2 separate regions of the Homo sapiens genome follow, and region 2 is linked to region 1. Evidence: promoter capture Hi-C in 16 types of primary human blood cells and fetal thymus (Javierre and others, 2016). All regions are on one chromosome and are shown on one strand. The core of a region is centred on a gene start or on the middle of the fragment in contact, and the rest is flanking DNA. Distances in the headings are between cores, read along the strand shown.

The links. Contacts are between HindIII fragments. The CHiCAGO score rates a contact against its expected background, and 5 or more counts as called.
Region 2: a fragment that was not itself captured here is called in contact with the fragment with the promoter of FSD1L in region 1 in 1 of 17 cell types (M0 macrophages); the score reaches 7.0 in M0 macrophages.

What each region holds. Positions count from the first base shown.
Region 1 is chr9:105,444,823-105,450,766 of GRCh38, reverse strand. It overlaps FSD1L (fibronectin type III and SPRY domain containing 1 like), which reads right to left and starts at 2,733. Exons shown (of 14, transcript NM_001145313.3): 1 at 2,532-2,733. The coding sequence starts at 2,546. RefSeq lists a silencer at 2,243-2,852. The HindIII fragment of the contact is 4,464 bases long and covers 1-3,807 here.
Region 2 is chr9:105,159,782-105,165,433 of GRCh38, reverse strand. No RefSeq gene overlaps it. Among named protein-coding and RNA genes, the nearest start is that of SLC44A1, 82 kb to the left of the region's middle. The HindIII fragment of the contact is 5,486 bases long and covers 996-5,652 here.

The DNA.
Region 1 (5,944 bases), core at 1,484-3,983:
GAGGTCAGGAGTTTGAGACCAGCTGGCCATCATGGTAAAACCCCGTCTCTACTAAAAATACAAAAATTAGCCAGGGGTGGTGGCAGGCGCCTGTAATCCCAGCTACTCAGGAGGCTGAGGCAGGAGAATCTCTTCAACCCAGGAGGCGGAGGTTGCAGTAAGCCAAGATTGCACCGTTGCACTCCAGCCTGGGCGACAAGAGCAAAACTCCGTCTCAAAAAAAAAAAAAAAAGAACACAATCCTCACAATAATCTTGTGAGAGAATTACAATTATTGTTATCTCTGTTTTACAGATGAAGAAATGGAGACAGAGCAAACTATCCCAGCTCATACAGCTTATAAATAGTAGAACTGGAGACTTGGCTCCAGAGCCATCCTCTTACTAATGTAAAGCCCAAATCCCAATGCCTAACAAACATTCAGGTATATATTCAGGCCTTCCTCACACTTTGCAGTACCTATTTTTCTTATACTCTACTGACTGAGGTACTACCCCTACTACTATTTTCAATGTACATTCCATAACAGAAAATAGTATCTAAAAATCATGTCTGGGGTGTACTACTGTCTTATTTAAAGAGAACAATATCCAGCTTAGATCATTACTATTTGAGGCTTGTGATTCTGCAGGAATTCATACGAGAAAAGGAAGCTCAGGTTCAGAGCACTGAACTGGTTATACACATTAATCCCGGACATTCTTTTTACAGCTATAAACCAAAGGGTGTTTGTTTTTTCATTAGAAAGATTTGGTACCACCAATGAAATTCAACATATTTTCTAATATTGAGAAGTTGATTCTCAAAGATATCACAAATAAGATACATTACTACTACTACTAAGAAAGAGAAGCTAATTCTTTGCTACCTCTCAGGAAACTGCACGTGGTAACCTGTAGGTACCCTAACACATCATTCGAAATGAGAACAAATAGGTTCAAATCTTAGCCTTAGGGCTAGTAGCATGACCTTCCAGGAGTCACAACTCATTAAAGTAAGGAATAATGCATCCCTGATAAAGTATGATGATCAATATTAAAACACATTTTTTTGTATTTTATGGGACACAGTATTTTAGTGGTCATACTTTGTAAACTTTAAAATGCTGTGTTTTCAGAACAAACTATTTTATCAGATTTTTACTATGACACTATAAAATACTCTTACTTCTACTGCATAGATGAGGAAACAGATTAATCACAGTTAAGTGACTTGCTCCTTATCACAGAGCTAGTAAATAGCATCCTGGAACCCATGTCTCCGGACTTTGCTCCTTCACTTGACCTCTGCTAATGTCCATTCAAATATCATTTCTTTTATCTAATAAGCTGAGAGATGTTTTACAAATTTAGGCAGAGACAATATTTTAAACCTATACATACTCAAAATACACAAAATCTAATTTTTAAAAAATGCCTTAAGAATAGTCATGCATTCCAAGGTGAGTTTCAAGACCAACACATACAATGAAATCATATGCATATTTGTTAAATACTGTAATAGTCAATGCTCAACACATCATTATTCTCTCATGCCCTCAGTGAAGTGATCCTCAAGAAGGTGAATGTAGACAAAATTGTAGAAAACGTTGTTCTAAGTCTTTCCCGTGCTTTCTAATAATAGAAAAGAATAGTCTCTTAGATATGTCTTTGTTTTCCCTGCTACATTATTAATACTCCTTGTTTTTTCTTTCCTACCCTGTACTATATTTCAATTACGTTATAGTCTAACAAAGAGAACAGGGTGGTTATTTTCATATGGAGATTATGACTGAATAATTCACTTCTAACTGTATTCAAGACATTGGCTTTGTTCTCCAAATACTTCTGAATTGAACCTTTACGATTATATAACCTTTCCTCAACTGTTCGGAAAGTATAAAACATTCCACAACGACCCCTAAGTAACTGTGCCCAGCAACACCAACTGGTCAGAGAGTGGGAAGGCTGCCCTAACAATTGAAGTCTTTTCCCTCCATTCAACGAACACTAAACACTAAGATCTACTTAGGAAAAGTCATGGGAAGGGGAGCGGTGGGCGGTACAAAGGAGATTCGGTCCCTGACCTAAAGAGCGTGGTGCTGAGACGAGACTTGGTCGAGGAGAAAGCCCCAGCTTTCGGCGTCAGCAGGGAGACACCAAAAAGGCTGTGCCTCGGTTTCCTCACCTGCTGAGGAGGGATACACCCCCACCAGCACGCTCGCAGTCTGCAGGCATGAAAACCGGCCTAAAGCGCTGCAGAGTGGCTGATTTTAAAAGGGGGATGGCTCCGTTTCTCCTCCAGAGTCAGGGCCCCGGACAGCGCGCAGAGCAGAGGCCAGCCCGAGTCACCGGGCGCGGTCCCCGCATCCGTGTGGGCGCCTCTTAGCTCCCGCCCAGAGAGCGGCCGGGCGGCCTTGCCCTCCGCAGCAGCAGCCCGGACGCCCGGCCAGGCCCACCCCGCGCACCCACAGCCCACGGGCCCAGGCGCCCCGCCCACCCTGTGCCGGCCCGGCTTGTCTCGGTAGCCCCGGGCTCCCCTCCCCCGCTTACTTTCTGGGAGTCCATGGCGAGTGGCTAAGCCCACTGGGCTCGAACCCGAGACGACGAACCGTGTGAGGAGGCTCAGCGAGATCGCACACCCCAAGACCGCTACTCACTGCACTGCCCCAGCCCGCACCGGCACCGCCCGGCCCCACCCGTCCGCGCCCAGACCGCGCGCGCCGTAGTCACGCCGCGGTTGCCAGGGTGAAAGGGCGGCCCGCAGAAGGGAGGGGCTGAGGAGCGCACCGCGCCTGCGCGCAGCGGCTGACTGCTCCCGGGAAGTAGCCGTGGAGGGTGGGGAGCGCCGCCCGTCTGTCTACCGCTAGTGCCTCTGCAGGCTGCACTCCCTTCCCCCATCCTTTTTCCTCCAGCGATAGCGGTCTCTCCGGCCCTGAAATAGGCCACTGGGCATCCAGCAGCCGGCCGGTGCGGAGGGCCCGGGAAGGAAAGAGTATCTGGTGCTGGAGACGGATTAGCCCACCCTCCACCCAGCACGCATCTGAAGCCCCTCCCCACACTATCCTTCGAGGGGCAGCCAGGCTTGAGCGGACCCAGCGGTCCAAAGGGAGGAAAAGGGCTGGGGTGGGGATGTAGCGAAAACGTGGGAAAAGACCTTTAGGGGATGTGGTGGAAACGTGGGAGGAGGGATATAGGGATGAGAGTGGCGGAAACGTGGGTGTGGGATTAATATGAGCTTTGGGGCCTGGCACAGTTTTTCCCGGGGACCCACCCATCCTCCCCGGCACCTCGCTACCTGTATGATTTTGAGCAAGTCAGTCTGCCTGAGCTTGTTTCATCTGTAAAATGAGAGAAATAATGCGGACTTTGCAGAGGATTGTGAGGATTAAATAACGTATGGTACATAATTAGTAGTGAATAAATTATAGTCATTCTCTTTTTTTTTTTTTTTTTTTTTTTTTGGAGATGGAGTCTCGGTCTGTCACCGAGGCTGGAGTGCAGTGGTGCCATCTTGGCTCACTGCAACCTCTGCCTCCCGGGTTCCAGGAATTCTCGTGCCTCAGCCTCATGAGTAGCTGGGATTACAGGCGCCCCCACCACACCTGGCTAATTTTTTGTACTTTTAGCGGAGACTGGTTCTAGCCATGTTGCTTAGGATGGTCTCGAACTCCTAAGCTCAGGCAGTCCGCCCACCTCAGCCTCCCAAATTGCTAGGATTACAGGTGTGGGTTACAGGGCATGTGCCAGGCCCATTATAGTCATTCTTAGTGGGGAGTTAGAACCTGCTCGGTGTGGCCTGAGGCATCAATGAAGATTTTAGAAAGCTTGGAATTTAGTAGGCTTGAGAAAGTTCTTCCTCAAGCAGACAGGCCTCATCTTCCATTTGGATGACTCTGGAGAGGCTCACAAAAGTTCAATTAGACAGTCATTTATGATGAATGAATAAAAGGGAAATACATATTGAGTACCTATTCTGTACCAGTTCTACAAACAAAATTCAGTAGTGGGCAAGGCCCTGTTTCTCTCACAGAGCTTACAATCTAGTATAGAAGACCAACCAAAAAAAAAAAAAAAGTTAACGTGCTAGACGGTTATAGGTGCTAAAATTAAAACTTAGGCCAGGCATGGTGGCTCACACCTGTAATCCCAACACTTTGGGAGGCCCAATGAGTGGATCACTTGAGTCCAGGAGTTCGAGACCAGCCTGGGCAACATGGCAAAACCCCATCTCTACAGAAATTAAAAAAAAAAAAATTAGCCAGACGTGGTGCTGCAAGCCTGTAGCCAGAGCCAATCAGGAGGCTGAAGCGGGAGGATCACTTGAGTCCTGGAGGCAGAGGTTGCAGTGAGCCTAGATCACACCACTGCACTCCAGCCTGGGCAACAGGGTGAGACCCCAGCTCCTAAATAAATAAATAAGGCAAATGGATTCAGAGAATTGGGAGGGTTTAATTTTTCATAGAAATGTCAGGGAAGATCTCTCTTGGAAATGACCTGAGTATAAAGTGAGAAGAGGAATTGTACAAGGATCTAGGGAAGAACATTCTAGAAAGTAGGAACAACAAATACAAAGGCCTTGTGGAGAGAAGGAGCTCTGTGTTTGAGAAACAGCATTTATTCTACAATGTTGTCATTACATCTCCACATGGATCCCCCTGACTGTACTGTGATTTTTTTTTTGAGGGCTGAATTTCTTTTACCCCATATCTGTATCCCCAGCTCAGAGTCTGCCACATAGTATGCACTTAATACATCCTTTTTTAACTGGACAGAGATGTACAAGAAATGAAATGAAAGTTACAAAAGGGAAAAGAAGAGCTTGGCTAAGGCTGGGTGGGTAGTGCTTAGAGAGCCAGGGTCCAGGGTGGGCCTATGTGTGCCAGCTGAAAGGAGTAGTGGCATGCAGTCCTTCAAAGAGATGCCCATCTCTTAGTACCAAGGGAAGAGAGCCTCTTATTCAACCTTTCCCAACTCCGTGAGGAATAACAAGTGCAGCCAGGCGCCAAGCCATTAGCCCACTGCTGCAGCCACAAAGGTCGTTCCTTCACACTGTGTACTGCAGTTGAGTCAGTTTCCCATGAGGGAGAAATAGCCTGGCGATTGGAGAACATCTAAAGTCTACTCACCAGACTGCGTGCTTCCTGGCTCTGCCCCTGCTTGCCACTATGGGACCCACGACTAAGCAGAGGAGACAGGGCTTGGCGATGTCCCCACTTCTCTTGCTGCAAGGACTTAACCTCATTACTGTCTGAGGGCAATTCCTAGGCACTTTATGACTGACAGGCACCACCAGAGAAAGAAGAAAGAGGCTTTTGGGGACAGTGAGTTGCAGCTGAAATGTGATCACCAGACTCTGTCACAGTCCACACCCCAGGAGCTCACTCCTGGCTCCTTGCCTCCAGCTTCCCAAGTTCTTTCCCTGTAGCCCAGCCAGCAGACTGCAGCTTTTGACAACATCTCTACCCCATTTGGCTTCTGCCCTCACCTGATCTCTGTCTCTGGCCAGTCTGGCTCTCCTGCCCAGCTCATCCTGGGCCTTTTGCTTCCCCTCGTTCCCATCTGGGAAACAGCTAGTTCCTTCTGACTGTGACTTCTGTCTTCCCCAGTTTGTACAAGTTCTCCCATCACAGCCACGTACCGAGCTGGGCTCTAAGTCTCCCACCCAATCCCTCCCAGTACCTCTGGCCTATAGGCAAGTCCTTTGCCTTTTCTGTACTTATTTTTTCACAGCCAAATCCATTTAGAAATTTTCAAAAGTAGTTTTACAAATAAAATAAAGCATTTTTCTTAAATGTGATCCCTGGACCAGCTGAATCCACATCACCTCATAACTTCTATGAAGTACAAATTGTCCAGCCTTATCCCTGGATCTACTGAATCAGGAACTCTTGGAGTAGAATCCAAAAATCTGTGTTTTAGCATTTCCTCTAGGTGATTCTGATGAACTCTAAGCTTGAGAGCCA
Region 2 (5,652 bases), core at 2,489-4,988, 290 kb after region 1:
TGTATTTGTAGGGTTTTCTGTTTGTTTTGTTTTGTTTTGTTTGTTTGTTTTTGAGATGGAGTCTTGCTCTGTCGCCCAGACTGGAGTGCAGTGGTGTGATCATGGCTCACTGCAACATCCGCCTCCCAGGTTCAAGCAATTCTCTGCCTCAGCCTCCTGAGTAGCTGGGATTACAGGCATCCGCCACCACACCTGGCTAATTTTTATATTTTTAGTAGAGATGGGGTTTCATCATCTTGGCCTTGAACTCCTGACCTTGTGATCCACCCAACTCGGCCTCCCAAAGTGCTGGAATTACAGGCATGAGCCACCGTGCCCGGCCTGGCTTGGTTTTTCTTGAGACAGAGTCTCACTCTGTCGCCCAGGCTGGAGTGCAGTGGCATGATCTTGGCTCACTACAACCTCCGCCTCCCAGGTTCAGGCAATTCTTGTGCCTCAACCTCTCAAGTAGCCGGGACCATAGGCACGTGCCACCACACCTGGCTAATTTTTGTATTTGTAGTAGAAATGGGGTTTCACCATGTTGGCCAGGCTGGTCTCAAGCTCCTGACCTCAAGTGATCCTCTCGCCTTGGCCTCCCAAAGTGCTGGGATTCCAGGCATGAGCCACCATGCCCAGCCAGGTTTTATTTTTTTTTAAATGATGTCAGAGAAATGGGGAAAAATGCTTAGATCTAACTAGATATTTATTATATTATTCCCAGAGGGCATAAAGGTAAAATGGCACAATGGATGAACTGCACACATTCAGGGGCCAGACTGGTTTAGATTCAGTTTTGACTTAGTAAACTGCTATAGAAATTGCATAAATTACTCAGTCTCTCTGTGACTCAGTTTTTCTCAACTATAAAATAGGGATCATAATAATACTTATTGACAGTATTGTGAAGATTGCATTACTTAGTTTATGGAAAGTATTGGAATAATGTTTGGTATATAATAAGCATTTGATAAGTATTAATTATTTTAGTAGTAGTTTTACATATTTCATAAGCTTTTCTCAAGAAAGTGAAAGCATATATATATACCCAATCCCAAAACTATAGATCCACAGTCATTTATTTGAAGCTCTTGGGGAAGATAAGTTTCATAATTCAGAATTTGGGGTTGTATATTATACAACACTAGTGGGGTCTAGGGGAGACCTCCCTAATGAAACACATTATTATTTTTGCATTGAAAATTATGAATATTCACTAAGTGGGATAAATAAACACTCTAAATAGCTTCATGTCAGTTCAGATCAGGTTTTACCACCAGACGAATTTGCTGTAAATGTACCAAAAACATTCAGTTTTCAGAATGTTTTGGATCTAAAATTGCATATAAGGGATTGTAGATCTGTACTTCAATGCATCTACCTGATGAATACTAGTTTGTCCTTACAAAGAATGAGATAGACCTATACATACTGAAATGGAAAGGTATATTGTTAAGTAATAATACTATATATGTTATAGTAGTTGGCAACTGACCGAACAGTACATATTGCCTTATCTTTGTCATATTTATAAAAACAGACATCTGTATTTTCATACATATATATGATAAATGTATTGAAAATAGACTGGAAAGATACCTGCCAAACAGTTGAGAGTGGTCACCTCTGGAGAGGGGATGGGGAAGGCTAAAGGCGAGCTGCCACCTTTTTCTCTGTATACTTCTGAATTTGTCTTCTATGAGAAGGTGTTCACACATATCTAGGTAATAAAAATGAAAAGGCCAGGTGCGGTGGCTCATGCCTGTAATCCCTGCACTTTGGAAGGCTGAGGTGGGATCACAAGGTCAGGAGTTCGAGACCAGCCTGGTCAATATGGTGAAACCCCATCTCAGCTAAAAATACAAAAAAAATAGCCAGGTGTGGTGGCGGGCACCTGTAGTCCCAGCTACTCAAGAGGCTGAGACAGGAGAATCGCTTGAACCCAGGAGGCAGAGGTTGCAGTGAGCCAAGATCACACCACTGCACTCCAGCCTGGGTGACAAAGCAAGACTCCATCTCCGAAAAGAAAAAAAAAACTGCTTAGAAAAACGAAATCAGGGAAGTGTTGTGGAGAGCCTGAGAAGTCTGTATTTAAATCTAAACTTGAGGAGCTATGGATATGTTTGAACTAAGTAGTAACAGCAGCCTCAGGAGAAAAAGTAGTTGGAACAATATGGTTTGGATTTACCTATCGAAAGAAGCGATATTGAGGATCAGTCTGAGTAAATTTTCCACTTGAGTTCCAGCTTCAGAATCAGCATAGTACTCTGAATTATTTCCCCAGTGCAACTGGGGAATAATGAAGTACCCAGGAGATGTTCTGTGGTGACAACAGAAATGAACCTAAAGGGCTTCTTAGCCTCTACCAGAGACCAGGAATGTTGCTGTGTCGCAGAAGGCAGGAGAAGAGAGGATTTCACCGAGGAACAGCAGGGTCAAGCGGGGCTTGCATTTGTGCCTCTGCCCAGTATATTCTCCACGCAGCAGTCAGGGGCATCTTTTAAAAGCACAAGCCTGGTTGTGCTACTACTTCAGTGGCTTCCCTAGAATATTCCTAAGTAGAGCTGGTGAGAAAGGGCCCTTGGTTCCTTTCTGGTTATAAGCCTAGAGTTCCTTGGGGTCATTTTTTCCTTCCATTCTCCTGCTGGAAAAAGGTGGCTTGAGAAAGAGATGCTGACAAAGCAGAGCAGTAGAGATGGAAAACAGAAAGGGAGGGCTAAGAGTATTTGAGTCCCTAAATCCAGTCTTACCTTGAGGCCCAGCTGGCTATCATTCTTTCTGAATTTGGCTACCATGTTTTTGCCCATGCTAGTTTGAGTTGGATTTTTTTCACTTGGAACCCAAAGACTCCTGAATAAAACCCTCCTCTTCAGTGCTGGATTCCCTGGAACGTTTAACTGGGACTCAAATTTGATCTGCGTTAGCAGTACACTTGAACTGTTGTACTGGTGAGGTTGTTGAGCCTAACAGTCTCTAGTCTCTGCCTTATGCAAACAAAGAATGCTACATAGCTGAAGGGAAAGGAGTGGGAGTGACTCCAGGAGTCATCACGTTTAAATCTGAATAGGTGTTGGCTGGGCACAGTGGCTCACGCCTGTAATCCCAGCACTTTGGGAGGCCGAGGTGGGTGGATCACCTGAGGTCAGTAGTTCGAGACTAGCCTGATCAATAGGGTGAAACCTCGTCTCTACTAAAAATACAAAAATTAGTTGGTCATGGTGGCTCATGCCTGTAATCCCAGCTACTTGGGAGGCTGAAGCAGGAGAATCACTTGAACCGGGGAGGCAGAGATTTCAGTGAGCTGAGATGGTGCCACTGCACTCCAGCCTCTGTCTTAACAAAAAAAACAACAAAAAAGTCTTTCTTATTTTACTGTATTTTTTCTTTTCTTTCTTTCTTTCTTTCTTTCTTTTTTTTTTTTTGAGACGGAGTCTCGCTCTCTCACCCAGGCTGGAGTGCAGTGGTGCGATCTCAGCTCACTGCAAGCTCCACCTCCCGGGTTCACGCCATTCTCCTGCCTCAGCCTCCCAAGTAGCTGGGACTACAGGCGCCCACCACCACGCCCAATTTTTTGTATTTTTAGTAGAGATGGGGTTTCATCGTATTAGCCGGCATGGTCTCGATCTCCTGACCTCGTGATTTGCCCACCTCTGCCTCCCAAAGTGCTGGGATTACAGGCGTGAGCCACCGCGCCCGAACATTTTACTGTATTTTTTTCAAAGTCTCTTGTTGGTAGTGATCTGATTCTTATCAAACTTTTTCATTGTTAACTCTACTAGTACTATTCAATTTGAATACACTCAAAACAGAGGCCACTCAATTTTATAAAAGGAAACCTTCTAGTTCTCAAAATTCCATTTTAATTTATGGTGGTTTGCTGTACTGTTCTTGTCTTTGCGTTATGCTCATTCTTAAAAAACTGTTTGTCTGGGTTTCTAGGTCAGAATTTTACATGTAGAGCAAATGGTCTTTATGCACATTTACTGTATTATTTGTTGAAGATGAAGTATGCGAAGATTTTCAAAGGATTGGGGGTAAATTTTACTCAATTTAAAGGTCAGAGGTTTACAATCATATGCTAAGCTATAGTGCATTTATAACTTTTATATCATTGTGTGTGTGTGTGTGTGTGTGTGTGTGTGTAAAATCACTGCATAAGGTCACCTTATGATAATTAGAATTTCTCTATTTCTGGTAGTTGTACTGTCTGAGTAATTCAAGCTGGAATTCTTTATTTGTCCCAAATTTGATATATAGATTTTGGTACTTGTTTATTGCCGCTCACTGTAGAAGTCCTGCATATTTAAGTAATACCTTGGTGCCAAGATTTTGGGAGCATCTAGATCATCTGGGAACTTTTGCAATTCTTATGAGTGGGTGTTAACATGTCACAAGATGCCAACATCCTATATGAAGGTAAAATAATCAGGTGAGACCCTGGAGGTGAAGCTCAAATTTGTGGATGACTCTGTGTGTGTGTGTGTGTGTGTGTGTGTGTGTGTATGTGTGTGGTGTCCAGGGAGGCCACAACTAGTAAGGGGAAAGGAAACCCAGAAGTGGTAACAACATTGGTCATTGTGTGGAATGATCTTGTGCAGAAATCTGGCAAGAAAAATATGACTGTAGCCTTTATTGACCTGCTATTGGCCTGTCACTCTAAGTAGCACGAGTTCAGTAGAGACACTGCATTATTGATGCTCCTACAAAACTTGCATTTTAATGCCCCTCAAGAATTCAGGATTGATAGAAATAGTGTTATAGCTTAATCAACTGAAACTGTAGATAAAAATAGATGGCTGCTGTCCTGGAACAGGAGGGTAAATGTCCTCCTGGGTGCTGATGAAATGGTTTTAATGTCATGGCCCAAGAATGTCCCTAGTAATTGGTTCTGAGTAATTAACCATTGTCAGTACTTTTAATGCAAAGTCTTCCAAAGATAATATCATAATTATTGGCAGATATTTCCCCAAATTCATTTGACTTAAATAACAAAATCCCCCACAAAACAACAATCACAACAAAACAGAACCCAAATCCATCTAACAAGTACAGTCATTCAATTTCCTTGAGACTCATTCATCCTGTCAAATCCACTGGAAAGCCATAGGATTTGTTGATATATTATTGAGAGTTTTAAATACCATTGGGGTAAATGTTGATATTTGCTTTGGATATTTTTTAGTTCATAGTAATCTCAACCATGCTTTATGGTATATAACTTTGTGCAGAGAGATTCAGCCCACTTCCTGAAGAAAAAAATTAACCTTGCCAGCAGATTAATTTCTATGTGGATCCTGGTTAGGCACCTCAATTTTAAAAATAGGGCAACAACATCACTACCTGTGCAAGTATGTTCTCACACAGCACTGGAGATGGTTCTTACTGGTTTGTTAGACTGTGTGCACCTTTCTCCACATCCATGTTCACTGATGTCAAGTTACTAGCTTGAAATTGGTTATAGCAGGAGTATTTACACCAGTGATTCTCAATGAGAAAGATTTTGCCCCCTAGGGCACATTTGACAATCTCTAGAGACATATTAATATTTTGTTGTCATAACTGGGGGGTTGCTACTGACATCTAGTGGGTAGAAGCCAGGGATGCTACTCAATATTCTTTAAAGGCCAGTGCTTCGTAAGAATTATCTGGCTCCAGGCCAGGTGCTGTGGCTCA